Regions from separate parts of the Homo sapiens genome. Here regions 2, 3 and 4 are each linked to region 1. Evidence: promoter capture Hi-C in human tissues and cell types (Jung and others, 2019). All regions are on one chromosome and are shown on one strand. The core of a region is centred on a gene start or on the middle of the fragment in contact, and the rest is flanking DNA. Distances in the headings are between cores, read along the strand shown.

What was found. Contacts are between HindIII fragments. The study calls those that stand out against the background at their distance.
Region 2: a fragment that was not itself captured here is called in contact with the fragment with the promoter of SLC16A11 in region 1 in 3 of the 25 tissues and cell types used here (H1 embryonic stem cells, dorsolateral prefrontal cortex and spleen).
Region 3: the fragment with the promoter of ALOX12 here is called in contact with the fragment with the promoter of SLC16A11 in region 1 in 1 of the 25 tissues and cell types used here (pancreas).
Region 4: a contact is called between the fragment with the promoter of CLEC10A here and the fragment with the promoter of SLC16A11 in region 1, in 1 of the 25 tissues and cell types used here (spleen).

What each region holds. Positions count from the first base shown.
Region 1 is chr17:7,042,842-7,045,458 of GRCh38, reverse strand. SLC16A11 (solute carrier family 16 member 11) reads left to right here and starts at 1,367. Exons shown (of 5, transcript NM_001370549.1): 1 at 1,367-1,684; 2 at 1,940-2,147; 3 at 2,386-2,529. The coding sequence starts at 1,946. LOC124903909 (a long non-coding RNA gene) reads right to left here and starts at 2,392. Exons shown (of 2, transcript XR_007065598.1): 1 at 2,219-2,392. RefSeq lists silencers at 1,761-1,890, 1,961-2,020. The HindIII fragment of the contact is 14,065 bases long and covers 1-2,617 here.
Region 2 is chr17:7,098,668-7,101,284 of GRCh38, reverse strand. No RefSeq gene overlaps it. Among named protein-coding and RNA genes, the nearest start is that of ASGR2, 15 kb to the left of the region's middle. The HindIII fragment of the contact is 3,021 bases long and covers 1-2,617 here.
Region 3 is chr17:6,994,722-6,997,338 of GRCh38, reverse strand. ALOX12 (arachidonate 12-lipoxygenase, 12S type) reads right to left here and starts at 1,290. Exons shown (of 14, transcript NM_000697.3): 1 at 1,087-1,290; 2 at 312-513. The coding sequence starts at 1,221. The region is part of intron 2 of ALOX12-AS1 (ALOX12 antisense RNA 1); the gene reads left to right. The HindIII fragment of the contact is 20,112 bases long and covers 1-2,617 here.
Region 4 is chr17:7,078,953-7,081,569 of GRCh38, reverse strand. CLEC10A (C-type lectin domain containing 10A) reads left to right here and starts at 1,319. Exons shown (of 9, transcript NM_001330070.2): 1 at 1,319-1,518. The HindIII fragment of the contact is 8,990 bases long and covers 1-2,617 here.

The DNA of each region.
Region 1 (2,617 bases), core at 118-2,617:
AATAAATACACACACACATACATACATACATACATACATACATACATACATACATACATAATAAAAAATAAAATTCTAACCTAAGTGTTTAGAGATTCTGATCTCAAGAATCCTTTCTATTCCCAGTGACCCCTTATTTTAGACTCATAAGTTTTCTGTCCCTGCAATGGTTCCACCCTTTCCAGGGCAGTTTGCTTCAAGCTGTATCCAGGATCTTTCCCTTAACTGTGCCAGATTTTGTTTCAGTCCTGGGATTGTTCTCCTTGTAGGTCCACAGTTGGACAGACCTAAATTCAAATATCCATACCATTTTTTCCCTGAGAGCTTCAGTTACTGCATCTATAAAAGAGGCACGACATCGGCCAGGCGCGTTGGCTCACTCCTGTAATCCCAGCACTTTGGGAGGCCGAGGTGGGCGGATCATCTGAGGTCAGGAGTTCCAGACCAGCCTGGCCAACATGGCGAAACCCCATCTCTACTAAAAAATACAAAAATTAGCTGGGAGTGGTGGCAGGCGCCCGTAATCCCAGCTACTCAGGAGGCTGAGGCAGGAGAATGGCTTGAACTTAGGAGGCAGAGGTTGCAATGAGCCGAGATCTCGCCACTGTACTCCAGCCTGGGCTACAGAGTGAAACTCCATCTAAAAAAAAAAAAAAAGAAAAGCGACACCTTCTTCATAGGGTTATCATAAGATGAAGTGATAGCATGTGTAAACGGTGCCTGGTACACTGCAGGTCTTCACATTGAGGGAGTCGTGTTTCATCCCTCTGTCCTTGAGGACCTGTTATTTTATTTTATTTATTTTATTTTTGTTTATTTATTTATTTTTGAGACAGAGTCTTTCTCTGTCACCCAGGCTGGAGTGCAGTGGCATGATCTTGGCTCACTGCAACTTCTGCCTCCCGGGTTCAAGCGATTCCCCGCCTCAGCCTCCCAAGTAGCTGGGACTACAGGCGCCCGCCACCACACCCGGCTAATTTTTTTTGTATTTTTAGTAGATATGGTGTTTCGCCATGTTGGTCAGGCTGGCCTCGAACTCCTGACGTCAGGTGATTCACCCACATCGGCCTCCCAAAGTGCTGGGATTACAGGCTTGCACCGCGCCCGGCCTGGGGGTCTGTTATTCTAAGCACAGAGCTGGCACTTGGTGGAGGTCTGTGATCTGATTGATATCCGAGATTTACCTGGTCCTCGGCAACGTTCCTGAGAACAAAACTACTCATCCCCTCAGGTTTTGGGGACCATCCCTATTTCCACGCGTTGGCGGTGGACCCTGGGCTCGCTGGGGTTTGCAATCCACGTGTCTCCCCTGCGCGCAGCAGGCGGCAGGTGCATGCGTGTGAGTAGGGCAGGGCCCCTCTGCATTCATTTCTCGCCGCTCCCCCCTCCCCCGGGCCTGGGGGTTGTGTGTGTACATAATTCAATCCCCGTGGGACTGGCGTCTGGCCTCACGCGCGGCTTGCCGGATTGGCTGTTTCAGCTCGCCCCCGCCCTCCGTACACCCCGCGTCCCAGGTGGCTCAGGCCCCTGTGGTGATCTCTGTTTACCGAGAGAGCCCGTCCAAGTTGGGCTCCATCGCTGCCCTCGCTCCCCTTCGGGGCCCCCGCCCGCCTGGGAAGCAGAGAGAAAGCCGGGCCCAGCCCTTCCTCACCCTTCCCCTCCCCGCACCGCCCGGAGAGGTCGGGTAAGGGGGAAGGAGTGTGCGTGGGACGGGGAACCTCGGGCCTGGGGATCTGGCTGTCCCCGTCCCCGTACCTCGCGCGGACCCGGGAGTTCCAGCCCTAGGCCAGGCTCCGGCTCCCTCCGCCCCGCGCCATCGCGCTCGGAGTGACGGGCCCACCCCGGGCGAGCAGCCAGAGGCTGGATCTCAGGGATGCCAGCTCCCCAGCGGAAGCACAGGCGTGGAGGCTTCTCTCACAGATGTTTCCCCACCCCGCAGACGGCGATGACCCCCCAGCCCGCCGGACCCCCGGATGGGGGCTGGGGCTGGGTGGTGGCGGCCGCAGCCTTCGCGATAAACGGGCTGTCCTACGGGCTGCTGCGCTCGCTGGGCCTTGCCTTCCCTGACCTTGCCGAGCACTTTGACCGAAGCGCCCAGGACACTGCGTGGATCAGCGCCCTGGCCCTGGCCGTGCAGCAGGCAGCCAGTGAGGGGGGCCCTGAGGCGGGAGACAGGAACGGGGAGGAGGAGCCGTGAGTGGAGGGATGGGAGACCCACCTGATTACCCGACAACCTGAGAAAGGGCAACCGGCTCTAGAAAAGAGTGCATCTTGAGGTCAAGGAGAAGAACCATTAGTTCGAGGGAGGCAAACAGCCAATGAGAAGTGTTGGAGAGAGTTTGGGGGCCCGGGGGCGTGTCTTCCGTTGACTCCGCCCCCTTTCAGGCCCCGTGGGCAGCGCCCTGAGCACGCGCTGGGGGGCCCGCCCCGTGGTGATGGTTGGGGGCGTCCTCGCCTCGCTGGGCTTCGTCTTCTCGGCTTTCGCCAGCGATCTGCTGCATCTCTACCTCGGCCTGGGCCTCCTCGCTGGTGAGGGAAGTGGGATGCCCGGGTCATTCAGGGTGAAGGAGGTGACAGGAGCTTGTTGGGATCTGGGGTAGCGAACGAGGCGGGGGCC
Region 2 (2,617 bases), core at 44-2,543, 56 kb before region 1:
CAAAGAGGAGGGAGAGGGGAGGGCATGGAAGACGCAAGGCGCGCATCCTAGACAGCTGCTCCTTGGTCCCTAATCCCGAGGGACATTGGTCAGGGAAACGGGAAAGGGGCTTGGAGCAGACAGGCTTAGTGGCTGGCACTGGTGGGAAAGGGGTCGGCCGGGCTGTGGCTGGAGGGTCCGCCTGGCTCCCAGTGAGAGGTGACAGCGTGCTGGCAGTCCTCACAGCCCTCGCTCGCTCTCGGCGCCTCCTCTGCCTGGGCTCCCACTTTGGCGGCACTTGAGGAGCCCTTCATCCCGCCGCTGCACTGTGGGAGCCCCTTTCCGGGCTGGCCAAGGCCGGAGCCGGCTCCCTCAGCTTGCAGGGAGGTGTGGAGGGAGCGGCGCTTGCGGGCCAGCGCGATTTCCGGGTGGGCGTGGACTCGGCGGACCCCGCACTCGGAGTGGCCGGCCTGCCCCACCGGCCGCGGGCAGTGATGGGCTTAGCACCTGAGCCAGCAGCTGCTGTGCTCAATTTCTCGCCACGCCTTAGCTGCCTTCCCGCGGGGCAGGGCTTGGGACCCGCAGCCCGCCATGCCTGAGCCTCCCCGACCCCCGCTCCGTGGGCTCCTGTGCGGCCCGAGCCTCCCCGACCAGCGCCGCCCCCTGCTCCAGGGCGCGCTCAGTGCCATCGACCACCCAAGGGCTGAGGAGTGCGGGCGCAGGGCGCGGGACTGGCAGGCAGCTCCACCTGCGGCCCCAGTGCAGGATCCATGGGGTGAAGCCAGCGGGGCTCCTGAGTCTGGTGGGGACTTGAAGAACCTTTATGTCTAGCTAAGGGATTGTAAATGCACCAATTGGCACTCTGTATCTAGCTCAAGGTTTGTAAACACACCAATCAGCACCCTGTGTCTAGCTCAGGGTTTGTGAATGCACCAATTGACACTCTGTATCTAGCTACTCTGGTCGGGAAGTCGAGAACCTTTGTGCCTAGCTCAGGGATTGTAAACGCACCAATCAGGCCAGATAAGAGAATAAAAGCAGGCTGCCCCAGCCAGCAGCGGCAACCCACTCGGGTCCCCTGCCACACTGTGGAAGCTTTGTTCTTTCGCTCTTTGCAATAAATCTTGCTGCTGCTCACTCTTTGGGTCCACACTGCCTTAAGAGCTGTAACACTCACCACGAAGTTCCGCAGCTTCACTCCTGAGCCAGTGAGACCATGAACCTACCAGAAGGAAGAAACTCTGAAGACATCTGAACATCAGAAGGAACAAACTCCAGACACGCCGCCTTTAAGAACTGTAACACTCACCGCGAGGGTCCGCGGCTTCATTCTTGAAGTCAGTGAGACCAAGAACCCACCAATTCCGGACACACCAGGGCTCCCAAAGGAAACATCTTTCTCTGCGGTTGGGTTCTCCCCAGACCGGGTCGCAGGGCATACCCCAGCTCCACTCTCAGCCTTCAAGGAAAATGGTCACGACGAGGAGGAGGATGGGTAAGTCACTTTCTCACCACCGTGGCTCTGTCTTTTTGACCCCAAGCGGATCTAGACATATCTTCAACACAGGGTGTCACCAACAATCTCCACAGTGGGCAAACTTCCCGCTCCAAGAACATTCTGAAACTGACCTTAAAAAGACTATTCAGCGGTTATATTATTTATTTAAGTTGGAGTCTTGCTGTGTTGCCCAGGCTGGAGTGCAATGGTGCGGTCTTGGCTCACTGCAACCTCCACCTCCCGGGTTCAAGCGATTCTTCTGCCTCAGCCTCCCGAGTAGCTGGGATTACAGGCATGCGCCACCACACCCAGCTAATTTTTGTATTTTTAGTAGAAACAGCGTTTCGCCATGTTGGCCAGGCTGATCTTGAACTCCTGACCTCGGGTGATCCGCCCGCCTCTGCCTTCCAAAGTGCTGGGATTATAGGCATGAGCCACGGGGCCCGGCCCCATATTTTTAAATTTTTAAAGTACAGAAGTAATACATTCTATTAGTAAAAAAATGTTTTAAATGACACACACACACGCACGCACACGAGTGTCCTCTCAGTCCTCCTCCGTCTCCCCAGAGTCAACTCTTTCCTGTGTCCCCTGCCAGAGCCCTTCCTGTGTACATGAGTAGATGCAATATTATGTCATTACATAGTGCCTGTTCCGCTTCACAGTGTCTCGTGGACACCAGTCTAATCTATGCCATTACCTGGCAGGTTTTACCTCCTTGGATTTAGCAGCTGTAGAGAATTCCAAAGTAGGGATGTACCATGCATTATGTAATCATTCTCTGTAGGGGGCAAGTAGTTACCACTTTTGTTTCTTTGTTTTCACATAGAATGTTTCAAAGTAATTTTTTTGCTCATAAGCTTGGGATAGGTCAAGACTTCCCACTTTTCAGTTGAAAAATTTTCTAGGATTGCCCCTTCAAAATGTACACGATTGGGATTAAATTTAAAAAACCGTGAAAATAGGCTGGGTGCAATGGCTCATGCCTATAATCTTAGCATTTTGAGAGGCTGAGGTGGTGGGTCGCCTGAGCTCAGGAGTTTGAGACTAGCCTGGGCAATATGGCGAAACCCAGTCTGTACAACATGCACACACACACACACACACCCCAGCTGGATGTGGTGGTGCATCCCTGCAGTC
Region 3 (2,617 bases), core at 41-2,540, 48 kb after region 1:
TCACTTTGCTTCTCTGTTTTCCTGGATCGCTGCAACTCCCACTTTCTGTCTTTGCCTTCTTGGAAGATGGGATCTCCAGATCACTTACTCCCTGCCTCCAGCCTCACACGCAGCCTCTCTTAGCCTGTGTAAAACTTTGGGAATTCATAACTCCTTCCCGTTTTCTGTCCAGCACCCTGGGATCCCTACATTTCACCTGCCCTGGGCCCATACATCCTCTAAGTCTGCTCCGACCGTCCTTAACTCTGCCCTCCTAGCCCCGCAGCAGTTCCCGAGACCTTGTGCCTCCTTCCCCGACGCCGCCTGCTCACCGGTGCCCTCGGGCAGGCTCAGGATGTCCTCGCCCTGCACCCAGCGGTAGCACGGGAAGGCCACCTCCGCGCAGGCTCCAGGGCCCTGCACCGTGATGCGGTCGCAGAACCACGCGTCGTCCACCAGCCAGTGGTGCTTGCGCAGCCTCACGAACTGCAGGAGCCCCAAGTCCTCTGCAACGTCATGATCAAACTCCTCCTCCTGTGCAGGCCGGACCCAGGCCAGACTTAGTAGGAGGGACCCGACTGAGGCCGTTTCGAGGACAGAGCCGCGCTCCTGTGCAACCTCAGTTTCTCAGGGCCTCCAAAGACAGCATCGCCTCGTTCCCGCCCCCGCACAACCTGCTCTTTGGGTCTCAGACGCCCGGAGTCGGGTGGAGGACGAGGGCCCGCAGCGCCTGGAGCTGATGCTGGAGCAGCATCGCCCACGTGGGTCCCATTAACTGAGCTCTCCCCGCGCCGGTTCTTGGAGGAGCTTCACGTCTGACCTCTGGCCTCATACTTACATTGGCTCTGGGTCACTGGGAGAAGGAGCTGGGGGCTGCCGGGACCAGGGGCGGGAAAGGGAGATGGGGTTGAGCCCAGCCCGGGATCCCAGCTGCGGACCCTGTCCCTAATCTTGCCCACCTCGTCCCAGCTTCGTGGAAGTCCCAGTCCGCGAGGTCGCGCTGTCACCTCGCCCCCAGCCTCCCGCCCTCCCGCCGCGAGCCCAGCTCGGCCCGGGCCTGGGCCCGGGGTCCCCGCTGCCCTAGCTCCCCTCGCTCCCCGCGCTGACCTCGCCCCGCGCGGGCCGCAGCTGCAGCTCCAGCTCCGCCTCCCCGCGCGTCCCGACCAGCCAAAGCTGCACGCGGTTGTACGACCCGGAGAAGAGCCAGGCCCCGGTGGCCACGCGGATGCGGTAGCGGCCCATGGCGCCCCCCAGCAGCTTAGGCGAGGGGAGCCGGGTCCTGTGCGATTCCCGGGACCGCCCAGGGCTGCCGGCGCCTCGGGGCCACTTCCAACCTTTAAAGGACCGGTCTGCGGCCCCGCCCTCCTCGCAAGTTTTAGGCGCTCCCAAGTCCCCGCCCCAGACTAGCCCAAACCTGCGAGCAGAGCGGTAGAGCCGGCTGTGGGGACTGGCTGTGCCTCCTGGTCGGAGCGTAGCTGCAGGATGATAAAGGGGCCCGAGCCAGGGTGAGGCCAACGGGGTGGGTGCGGCGGGACCTTCCTGGACCTCCCGGGAAGGCGGGATCGAGGTGGGCCTGAGCCCCCGGGTTGGAGCGAACATAGATGAGAACACTTCCCGAGGTCTCCAGGTCTTCTGGGGAGCCAGGAGGAAGTAGGGGATGAGTCCATCTTCCAAACGGAGGGGAAGGTCTCCGCTTTTCTGGGCTGGGACCCGGGGAAGGCAGTGGGCCGGCTTCTGGAAGGTCGGCCTGGGAGGCCGTGCTGGGGTCTGGGGATGTCCCGCGGCTAGACCCGGCGCGGCCCATGTGTCCTCCAGTACCTGAGCTCTGCCGCCCTTGAACGCTGTGCTTCCGTCAACGACCAGGGGTTCCCCAGGGTACCTAGAACCTGGAAATGTAGCAGCTCAACACCCGCTCCCCACCCCGTTTCAAATATCTGGGCGCTGGGGTCCCAATGTACACCAAATATCATGGGCCAGACCTTTGAGAGAGGCCTGAGGCAGGGCAGTGAAAAACTCATTTTGTCCAACCTCCGAAGCGGGTACAGACAATGTTAGGGACCCAGGAACACCAGTCGGGGTGTTAGGGTGCGGGATGGAATTGCTTAGGGACCTGGCCTACGTGGCCAGTTCCCAAGAACTTTGTCTTTTCCAGGTGAGTGCAGCCCCTTCCGCTCCAGTAGGTTCCAGATTAATTTTTTATCCCCAAGCTCTTTCCTGCTCCTTCATGGGTCTCAGGTCTCCTGGAAATCCAGGAACAGCAATTAGCCCACTGCTATTTAGGGCCTTTGTAAACATTGAAGGATGATTCGGAGCTTAGGCTTTCTCTCCCGTGTCAGGAATCAGTCAGATGAAGCCTGCTGCACGCGTCCCTGTCTAGATCTTGATTCAAGTGATTATATGCATTTGGATCTCCGTGGATGCATCTGGTGGCCTGGGCTAGGCCAGTGTAAGTTAAATCTGCTTTCTTGAGCCAGTCCTCAGAAATGACTTGGTGGCCTAGTTGTTGGTAGAGGTAAGTGAGTGGGAGTTTTAGCCCCGCCTTCCAGCCTCCAGATCAGACTCTATCTCAAAAATAAATAAATAAATAAATAAAAATAAAAAAATAAAGTGTCTGTCCCTTACTGGATTCAATTCCCTT
Region 4 (2,617 bases), core at 70-2,569, 36 kb before region 1:
AATACCAAATAAAAACAAAACTGGCAACGACCTGGCCGGGTGCGGTGGCTCGCGCCTGTAATCCCTGCACTTTGGGAGGCTGAGGCGGGCAGATCATGTGAGGTCAGGAGGTCAAGACCAGCCTGGCCAATATGGTGAAACCCCTCTCTACTAAAAATACAAGAATTAGCTGGGTGTGGTGGCGGGACCTGTAATCTCGGCTACTCGGGAGGCTGAGGCAGGAGAATCGCTTAAACCCAGGAGATGCAGTAGCCGAGATTGTGTCACTGCACTCCAGCCTGGGCAACAGAGTGAGACTCTGTCTCAAAAAAATAAATAAATAAATAAAATAAAAAAGAAAAGAAAAAGAAACAACTTAAATTTCTGATTTATTTCTGTCAATAGAGAAATGCTAAATAAATAAATTACGGTGCCTATGATGAAATGAGGTGCAGGTAGATCAAGTACATTTTATAAACTGATGTGGAGAAATGTTCCTGATAGCTTGTTAACTCCAAAAAAAAAAAAAAAAAGCACATAGCAGAACACAACCCCATGTACATACAAAATATAACCTAAAATGTATTTCTTCTCCTTCTCCACCTTGTAAGATACTCAGTTTCCTTCCTACTGAAAGGGATGTGCGCGTGGATTCAGGGCAGCTCCCTTAGGGGTTGAGCAGGGATCATGGGATGAAATGGAATCCTGTTCATGAAGACAGCGCCTGTGCTGAGAGCCAGAGCAGGGTGCCAAACTGTCTCCTTACAAGCTGTGAGTGATCTTGGGCTCTGAGCCTTTAGTCCGTCATCCAAAATGCCTCCCCAGGTGCTTGGGGGGAATGGTTGTGGAAGGTAAATGTCTGGCATAATCCTATCACAGATTACTCAATAAAATTTGCTCTTTTCCTTGGCTTCTCCCGTCCTATTAGGGCCAAGAAGTTCTATTCTCTGGCACCCCCTTCCCTCCTTCCGAGTGGAGTGAGGCGAGCGAGGCCACAGCTGAGCAGCCGAATGACTGGGACCCAGAGGATGCTGATGCCAGGGACTCAGGCCAGGATTGAGCAAGAGAACAGACTGGGCTTCTCTAGGATCAGAGGTGCGATGATGGAGACCCAACAATTCTGGGAAATGTAGAGGCAGGAAGTGAAAGGAAGTGTAGGGTAGAGGAGCAACAGCAGATTGTACCTCTGATCCAGCCCTGCTCCCAGATGGTAAAAATGAGGAAGCTCCGAGAAGAGGAAAGGAAGTAGGCATGGCCTGGAGGAGGAGAACAGAGCTGGCCTCAAACCCAACTCTCCCCACCCACACATGGTCTCTGTGTGTTCTAATCCCTGTTCATTCTCATTTACTGTCTAAAGTTGAGGAGATGGGATGTCCCAGATGATAGGGCTCCTGGGATTTCAGACCCAAGACCAGCAGGACTCCAGTCACCTCTACCCCAGCTCTCCAGGACACAGCGCTCCCAACTCTGAGTGACGTCCCACCTCTGGTCCTTGCAGCACAACCAACGTGGGAATCACACCCTCCAGACCTCCCACAGGTAATGGTGCTGCCGGTGCCGGTGAGACCCAGGGGACAGGGGATGTCAGAGGAAGCAGGGAGAGGGGGACTTTGGGTCTTGGGTGGGACTAAATGAAAATAAATATAAGGCGGCAGTGTGGGGTTTAATTACTACGTGGAGATTTGAGACTCTGTTCCCTTCACTGGATTCTAGATTGGGTTACGGCAGCCACAATCCCCTGTCATAAACTAAGACTCCGGGAGCTGAGGCAGGAGAATCTTGTGAACCCAGGAGGCAGAGGTTGCAGTGAGCCGAGACGGCCTCGTTGCACAACAGCCTGGGCGACAAGAACGAAATTCCATCTCAAAAAATAAATAAATAAAAATAAAAATAAACTAAGACTCAGACTCAGCCTCATTGGTGGCCCATTTCCAGCCTTATCTTCATCTCAGCCCAGCCATGCCCTAATCCCAATACTAACCCCAGCTTCTACATTTTCTTTTTTTTTGAGACTGAGTCTCACTGTGTCGTCCAGGCTGGAGTGCAACGGCACAACCTCGGCTCACTGCCACCTCTGCCTCCTGGGTTCAAGTGATTCTCCTGCCTCAGCCTCCCAAGTAGCTGGGATTACAGGCGCACACCACCACACCCAGCTAATTTTTGTATTTTTAGTAGAGATGGGGTTTCACCATGTTGGCCAGGCCGGTCTCAAACTCCTGACCTAAAGTGATCTGTCTGCTTCGGTCTCCCAAAGTGCTGGGATTTATAGGCGTGAGCCACCGCACCTGTCGCCCCCCACCCAGCTCCTACTTCAACCCCAACCCCAGAATCAACTTGAATTTTAACACCAGCCCAAAGCCAAAATTGAACCTCGACTCTATTCTGTTTCCAAATTCACCACCAAAGTTAACCCCAATTCCATCCATGGCTCCAACGTGCATACTGACCCCAATCCTAGCATGAGATACAACCTCCAGTCCTGCCTGATTAACTGGCCCACTGGGTAGTCCTAGCAATGCGTTTAGCTCCAACGTTACCCTCCAGTTTCACTCCCAAACTCAACTCGACCCCAATTCTAACTCGACTGCAAACCCAGGCTCATTTCCGTCTTAACCCTGGGCTCATTCTCAACCTGAGC